Regions from separate parts of the Homo sapiens genome. Here region 2 is linked to region 1. The links are contacts of gene promoters, found by promoter capture Hi-C in human tissues and cell types (Jung and others, 2019). All regions are on one chromosome and are shown on one strand. The core of a region is centred on a gene start or on the middle of the fragment in contact, and the rest is flanking DNA. Distances in the headings are between cores, read along the strand shown.

Region 1 (4,133 bases), core at 1,439-3,938:
TTCTTATAGTTTGAGGTCTTAAATTTAAATTTTTACAGATTTGGGATATATTTCTTTCATACCTCACAACAAATTCATCATCTCTTCTCTAAATTCTGTTCAAAACTATATCCAGAATCCAACATTACCTTCATTACTGCCAACTTGATCCAAGCCACTGCTAGCCTGTGTCTGAATGAATATAATAGCCTCTAATCTGGTTTAGCATCTTCCCATTTCCACCAACCTCTCACTCTAGTCACCGCAAAATTAATCCTTTAATTGTTAGTCAAGTCATGTATTTTCTCTTCTCAAAACCTCCATGAACTTTCTATGAGATTTAAAGTAAAAGCCAAAGTCCATAAAATGGCCAATAGGGAGACATTCACATTCTGATTTATCCTTTACTGCTTTAGCCTCTTGTCCTGTCATGCTCCCAATTATAGTTTCTACTCCAGTCATCTCTGGCCTGCTTTAGGATATTTTTAATCAGTGTTTTCTCTACCTAAATATCTCTTCCACCGATGTCTGCATAGTTAAATTTCTGTCTTTGTTTCTTTTTGTTCTTCTATCAAATGTCACTTGAAAGTAAGAAGGAAAGGGGCCAGGCGCGGTGGCTCACACCTGTAATCCTAGCACTTTGGGAAGCCAAGGTAGGTGGATCACTTGAGGGCAGGAGATTGAGACCAGCCTGGCCAACATGATGAAAACTCATCTCTACTAAAAATACAAAAATTGGCTGGGCATGGTGGAGGGGGTGCCTGTAATCCCAGCTACTGGGGGTGCTGAGGCAGGAAAATCACTTGAACCCGGAAGGCAAAGGTTGCAGTGAGCTACGATCCCTGGAGTGCCATTGCACTCCAGCCTGGATGACAGAGTGAGACTTGGCTTCCAAAAAAAAAAAAAAAGAAAAAGAAAGCAAGAATTAAAGGGATGAGAAAGGGAGGGGGGGGAGAGGACAGAAGGGGAGGGGTGGAAGGGAGAGGGAGGGGAGGGGGAGGGGAATGGGAGAGGGGACGGGAGGGTGATGGAAGGGAGGAGGAGAGATGTAAGGGAAGGGGGATGGAAGGGAGAGGGGAGTGGAGAGGAGTGGAGGGGAGGGAGGAGGGAAGGGGAGGGGAGCAGAGAGGGAAGGGAAGGGAATGGGGAAAAGGAGGAGGAAGGGAAGGGGGAGAGGGAGCAAAGAGGGAAGGGAAGGGAATGGGGGGAGTGGAGAAGGGGGAGCAGAGGGCAAGGAGAGGAGGGGGGAGGGGAGAGGAGGAGGAGGGGAAAAGGGAGGGAGGGGAAGGGAAGAGGAGGGGAAGAGGAGGGACACAGGGAGGGGGAAGGGAAGGGAAGGAGGAGGAGGAAGGGAGGGGGAAGGTAGGGGAAAGATATAAGAAAGGATGAAAGAAATAATAGGGGGAGATGCAAGAGAAAGAAAAGTGAAGAAAGGAAGGAAGAAGGAAGAGAAAGTAACAGAGGGAGAAAGATAAAGAAGGGAGAGAAAGGAAGAGAGGGAGAAAGGGAGGAAACTTCTAAGTCTTACAAGAAGCAAGATATAGTAGATGAACTGTTTTCCAGATATAAATGGATATGTGCATCATGATACTATGTTATGTTCAGCGTAAATTGTCTTGGGAGGCCACAGTGTATAATTATGAATAACTCATTTCCATGAGTCAACATATAAAAGTTCTTCCCTTTAGATAACAAAATGTTAGTAGCACATTGATTCATGAAAAATGTGTAAATATTATATAAATTATATAAAGAATAAATCATAAAACATATACACATGTATAATTTTATTTATTGCTACAAATAGAAATTTTTTTCTACAGTGTGATTTTAATATTTTAAAATATTACTTTTCTTTCATTAGGAGAGTGATTAAATATATGTTTCACACACTTACTGCAGGATCAAGTGTAATACAAATGATTTATGTTTAATTTAGTAATTTGAAAATATAAGGATAGTATTAAAGCCAGTGTCCAACTGGGACTGTGGGTTCAGGATATACTAATAGAATCTTAATTTGACAAAATTCTAATGCACTCAGTAACTGTTCTTTCTATAATCTCACAGATAGAGGTGAGATTTCATTTATTCTACCTTTCAGTGGTATAAATTTCTTGAGGCTTTCTTTATTATAGTCCCATAATTCTTCTTTAGGAAAAGGTAGATTCTGTATTACTTCTTTTATAAAGATCATCATAGAATCAATAAGTAACATACTAAAATCGTTCTTCGCATCAGCAGGCCCTCTTTCTGTTCTCTTATGCTGACAGCCTTTGCTATACAACACCATCTGAGGTTGTTACTAAACCTTCAGCATCAGGTTTCCCTAGCAACAGAAAGCTTTTTTCTTTCTCCCACTGTCTGTATATGAGTTTTTTACAAAAACAAAAAAAAAATTGTAATAATCTCTAAAAACACAAGAAAGCATTCAGACTGAGACCTATGAAGTTAGCAATGAAAATGGTGAGTTACAAATAAAATAAGGAATAATTAAATTGTAGAGAAGTATTTTGCTTATGGATTTACACAAAGCTCCAGATGGTGATTTGCTATATTCATCTCCAGATTAGCTAAATAAAGGCCAGGCCTTATGTCAGCCTGCACATGGCTTTAATGACTTTACCTTTGTACTGCAAAAGGTTAAGGCTTTTAGTGCTATGTTTCAGAAGACACATATAAAAGAAGCTTTATTGGATTAGGCTTCTGAGAAACAAAGTGATACACGCTAGGCATGTCCAGACATTAACCGTAATCAGAAGCCTCCTAGGGTTGCAAGCCTCCTTGGCTAATGGTTGGGGTAAGTTATACTTGATTCCACCTAGAAATTATTTTTCTATTACTAGATAAAAACACTGCCTAGCTGAACACAACTACAAAGATCTCTAATTATAATCATAAGCATTTCTTTAACCAGTTATTTTTACTTATTATATATAAAACATTTTCACTAAATTTTCTCTGTCATTTGCTTAAGGATATTCATTCTGTTTGAATCAAAAACAACATGTGCTTTATATTCCTTGGATATACAAATAATATAATTTTCACCTCCTTTGAGATACAGGATTTGGGGGATTGCTAGAGAATCTTTATTTAGTCATGAAGTACTTATGATTGCTTTCGATTTTTGAGGTTTTCCCCCATTGTCTGCTAGCATATACATAGGGCCATGAAATGTCAATTGCAAATGAAATTGTATGATTTTTCAGTTTGTTTAGAAAAGATTTTGGCCATAAATCTAGAGATACTCATACTAGTTTTGTTGGAGGTGATGTTTATTCTCATGTTAATGATCAACATTTTTTTCCTCTTCAATGGCACTGTGAGGATAGTGTTTCCTTTGTACGTGGTTGTTTAAGTTTTCTTACAACTGATCAGATATGATGATTTTTTAACAGCTGTAGTGTGATTATTTATTTTTAAAAAGAAAACGTAAAGGTGTTTCACAGGTCCAACACTCTTACCTTATTAATACACTACCAGTCTTATTATTTAGGAGATTTATGGTTCAATAAGATTTATTAGTTCTGTTTAATTCTTATGACTTTAATGAGCTTAAAAATCTTTATTATTTAAATATTTCAGAAATCAGGTATGTTGAACTATTTGTAATTACTTAGTATACAATATTAAAATAAGGGACCATTGCTTACCTTAAAGGTTAATGTTATTTTCAAAGTTAATTGCATAATATTAGAAACTATTGATATATATACTCATGTGTATATATGCTCATATATATACTCATATCATCTATATCATATGAGTATATGTCTATCAATCATTCTGCCTAAAATTATTAAATGTGATTTCTAAAATACATATGAAATGAATATTGAAGCATGCAACATATTGATATATATTATTTTGCCATTAATTTTGATATATATTACTTTGCAGTTAATTTTCATACTATATTTATATTATCAATTCTAACAAGTTTTTATTTAAAACTTAATATTTAGGTAATAATGATTCAGTTTATATTATTAGCAGGATTAAGGAAATACAATATTACTAGTGGATAAAGTGTGTTTTTATTATCAACAAAAATTGCAATTGTTAATAATTCAGATTTTTTAAAAATAATTCTCAGTTTTTAACTTAATAGTTTTAATTGGCCTAAAAATGGCCCTTTTAAACAAAAATGT
Region 2 (3,942 bases), core at 291-2,790, 70 kb before region 1:
TATGAAAGGAAGAATGGTCCCAAGAGTAAGAATTAGGTCAAAGATTTCTATTAATTACTAAATTGTAATGTGACCTACAAGGGGTGATATTTTCTAAATTTGCACACTAATGATTGTCCTTTTCTTTTTGTCAAAGCTAGTGTCTGTTCTGTGTCTGTGCCATGCAAGTTATTAAATATTCAGACATCACCAAAGCTTACCACATAAAAAGCATATACCTCTATTTGGGAGGCTGAGGCAGGAGAATCACTTGAACTTGAGATGTGGAAGTTGCAGTGAGCCGAGAGTCTACCACTGCACTCCAGCCTGGGCAAAAGAGTGAGACTCTGTATCCAAAAAAAAATGTGTATAAATATAAAACATGAGTTTGGAAATTTGGGAATTATAAGTTTAGTAAATAATTCATTATTGTATAATTATGTCCCATTTACATATGGACTAATTCACATATATAAAATTGGCATGCTATTTACATGCTTCTAAATATTAAAAATATGAAATATTACATCATGAATAAATTATATTCCTATTGATAACAGAATTTTCTAAGAAAGTAAGCTAAGGTGATTACAAAAACTGTTTCATTCTATTTATATATTTATTTTATTTTCAACTTTTATTTTAGGTTCGGGGGTACACATGCAGGTTTCTTACATGCATAAATTGTGTGTCATGGGGGTTTGGTGCACAGAGTATTTCATCACTAACGTAATAAGCATAGTACTTGATGGGTAGATTTTTTATTTTTATCTTCCTCCCACCCTCAGCTCTCAAGTAGACCTTGGTGTCTGTTGTTCATTTCTTTGTGTCCGTGTGTACTTGATGTTCATCTCTCAAACACAAGTGAGAACATGCGGTATTTTCTTTTCTGCTCCTAAATTAATTCACTTAGCATAATGGCCTACAGCACTATCCATGTTGCTGCATGATTTCATTCTCTTTTATGGCTGTATAGAATTCCATGGTGTATATGTATCACATTTTCTTTATTCAGTTTACCTTTGATGGGCATTTAGGTATATTCCACATCTTTGATTGTGAGTAGTGCTGCAGTGAACACATGTGTGCATGTGTCTCTAAAGTAGGATGATTTGTGTTCCTTTAGGTATATACCCAATAATGGGATTGGTAGGTTGGAATGGTAGTTCTGTTTTAAGTTCTTTGAGAAATCTCCAAACTGCTTTCCACAGTGACTGAACTAATTTCTCTTCCCACTAGCAGTGTATAAATGTTTTCTTTTATCCATGACCTCACCAGAATCTCTTATTTTTTGACTTCTTAATGTTGGCTATTCTGATTGATTGGTGTGAGATAGTATCTCACAGTGGTTTTGATTTACATTTCTCTAATGATTAGAGATGTTGAGCATTTTTTCATATGCTTGTTGGTCATGTGTGTAACTTCTTTTGAAAAATGTCTGTTTATATCTTTTGCTCAATTTATAATGGGGTTGTTTGTTTTTTACTTGTTCATTTGTTAAAATCCTTATAAATTCTGGATATTAAGCCTTCGTTGGTTGCGTAGTTTGCAAATATTTTCTCCCATTCTGTAGGTTGTCTGTTTACTCTGTTGATAGTTTATTTTGCTGTGCAGAAACTTTAGTTTAATTAGGTCCCTTCTGCCAATTTTATTTTTGGTGTAATTGCATTTGACATCTTCGACATGAAGTCTTTGCCAGGGCTTATGTCTAGAATGGTGTTTTCTAGGTTTTCTTCAAGGTTTTCTATTGTTTTTGGTTTTACATTTAAGTCTTTAGTCTATCTTGAGTTGATTTTTGTATATGGTGAAAGGAAAGGGTCCGTTTTTAATCTTCTGCATATGACTAGTCATTTATTTTGCCATTAATTGAGTAGGGTTCCCTTTCTTCATGGCTTGTTTTTGTTGGCTTTGTCGAAGATCAGGTGATTGTAGGTGTGAGGCTTTATTTCTGGGTTCTGTAACCTGTTTCATTGGTTTGTGTGTCTACTTTTTAAGCAGTACTGTGGTGTTTTGTTTACTGTATCCTTGTAGTGTAGTTTGAAGTCAGATAGTATGATGCCTTCATCTTTGTAATTTTGCTTTGGATTATCATGGCTATTTGGGTTCTCTTTTGGTTCCATTGCAGCTTATAGCTTTCAGTGAATGCTAAGAATGAGTACTCAGACAATTCCAGCTGAGCGGGGTGAGGGGCAGCTCTTCTGAGAGAGTGCCCCCCAGAATCCATCCACCAAGTATTTATTGAAAGGGCTTGCTACTACAGACATCCACCAGATGGCATTTTGCCGTCGGGTCATGAGATACATATGGCCTTGTAAAAGCAGTTAAACTACATTCTTAGGAGACTGTTTTCAGCATTCCGTATCACACACTCAATTGCTTGTCCTGTTTTCAGGGTCAAGGAGTTACAGTCTCATGCACAAACAACATACACACAGTACCTCAGTGTTTTTCTATGCCCTGACCTCAAATGCCTTGTACAGAAGCTTGAATATATTGCTATGCAACCCCTTATATCCATATAAATTTTAGAATATATTTTCCTAATTCTGTGAAAAATGCCATTGGTAGTTTGATAAGAAGAGTGTTAAATCTGTACATTGGTTTGGACCATATAGCCATTTTAACAATATTGACTCTTCCTATCCATGAGTATGGAATATTTTTCCATTTGTTTGTGTTGTTTCTGATTTCTTAATTCAGGGTTTTTAAATTCTCATTCTAGAGGTTTTTCACCTCCCTTGTTAGCTGTATTCCTCGGTATTTTAATATTGTTGTGGCTATTGTGAACGGTATTTTGTTCTTGACTTGGCTTCCAGCTTGGATGTTTTTGGTGAATAGATATGCTAGTAAATTTTGCACATTGATTTTGTATCCTGAGGCATTGGTGAAATTGTTTATCAGCTCTAGAAGCTTTTAGGCAGAAACCCTGTTTTTTTTTTTAGGTATAAAATCATTATGTATGTGAAGAAAGATAGCTTGATTTCATCTCTTCCTATTTGGATGCCTTTTATTTCTTTCTCTTGCCTGATTGCTCTGGCTAGGACATCCGGTACTATGTTGAATAAAAGTAGTGAGAGTAATACTCTTCTTCCAGTTCGCAGAGGGAATGCTTCCAGTTTTTGCCCATTCAATATGATTTTGGCTGTGAACTTGTCAGAGATGGCTCTTGTCATATTATTTTGAAGTGTGTGTCTTCAATGCCTAGTTTATTGAGGATGTTTAATATAAAGGATGTTGAATTTTATCAGATGCTTTTTCTGCATCTATTGAGGCAATCATATGTTTTTTGCTTTTAGTTCTGTTTATGTGATGAACCATATTTATTGATTCATGTATGTTGAACCAACTTTACATCCCAGGGATAAACCCTACTTGATTATGGTGACTTCACTTTTTGATATGCTACTGTATTCAGTTTGCTGAATACAGTATTTTCTTGAGGATTTTTGTATCTATGTTCATCAGGGAAATTGGCCTGAAGTTTTAACTTTTTCTGCTGTGTTTCTGCCAGGATTTGATATCAGGATGAGTTAGGGAGGAATCCCTTCTCCTAAATTTTTTGGAATAGTTTCAGCAGGTTTGTTACTACCTCTTCCTTATACATCCGGTAAAATTCAGCTGTGAATCTGTCTGGTATAGGGCTTTTTCTGGTTGGCAGGCTTTTATTATTGATTCAATTTCAAAAGTCATTATTGGCCTGTTCTGCGTTTTAGTTTATTTTTAGTTCAATCTTGGGAGTTTGAATGTTTTCAGAAATTTATCCACTTCTTGTAGGTTTTCTAGTTTGTGTGCCTAGAGATGTTTGTAATAATGTCTTGTCTGAAGGTTTTTGTTTGTTTGTTTTTGTATTTCTGTGATGTCAGTGGTTATATCACCTTTATCATTTCTGATTGTGTTTATTTGTATTTTCTCCTTTTTTTATTAGTCTACCTACCAGTCCATCAATATTATTTATTCTTTCAA

The links. The method cuts DNA at HindIII sites, captures the fragments that hold promoters and counts their contacts. A contact is called where the count stands out against the background at its distance.
Region 2: a contact is called between a fragment that was not itself captured here and the fragment with the promoter of EYS in region 1, in 2 of the 25 tissues and cell types used here (hippocampus and mesenchymal stem cells).

What each region holds. Positions count from the first base shown.
Region 1 is chr6:65,705,781-65,709,913 of GRCh38, reverse strand. It overlaps EYS (eyes shut homolog), which reads left to right and starts at 2,688. Exons shown (of 43, transcript NM_001142800.2): 1 at 2,688-2,779. The HindIII fragment of the contact is 4,031 bases long and covers 2,496-4,133 here.
Region 2 is chr6:65,774,862-65,778,803 of GRCh38, reverse strand. No RefSeq gene overlaps it. Among named protein-coding and RNA genes, the nearest start is that of EYS, 70 kb to the right of the region's middle. The HindIII fragment of the contact is 5,057 bases long and covers 1-3,942 here.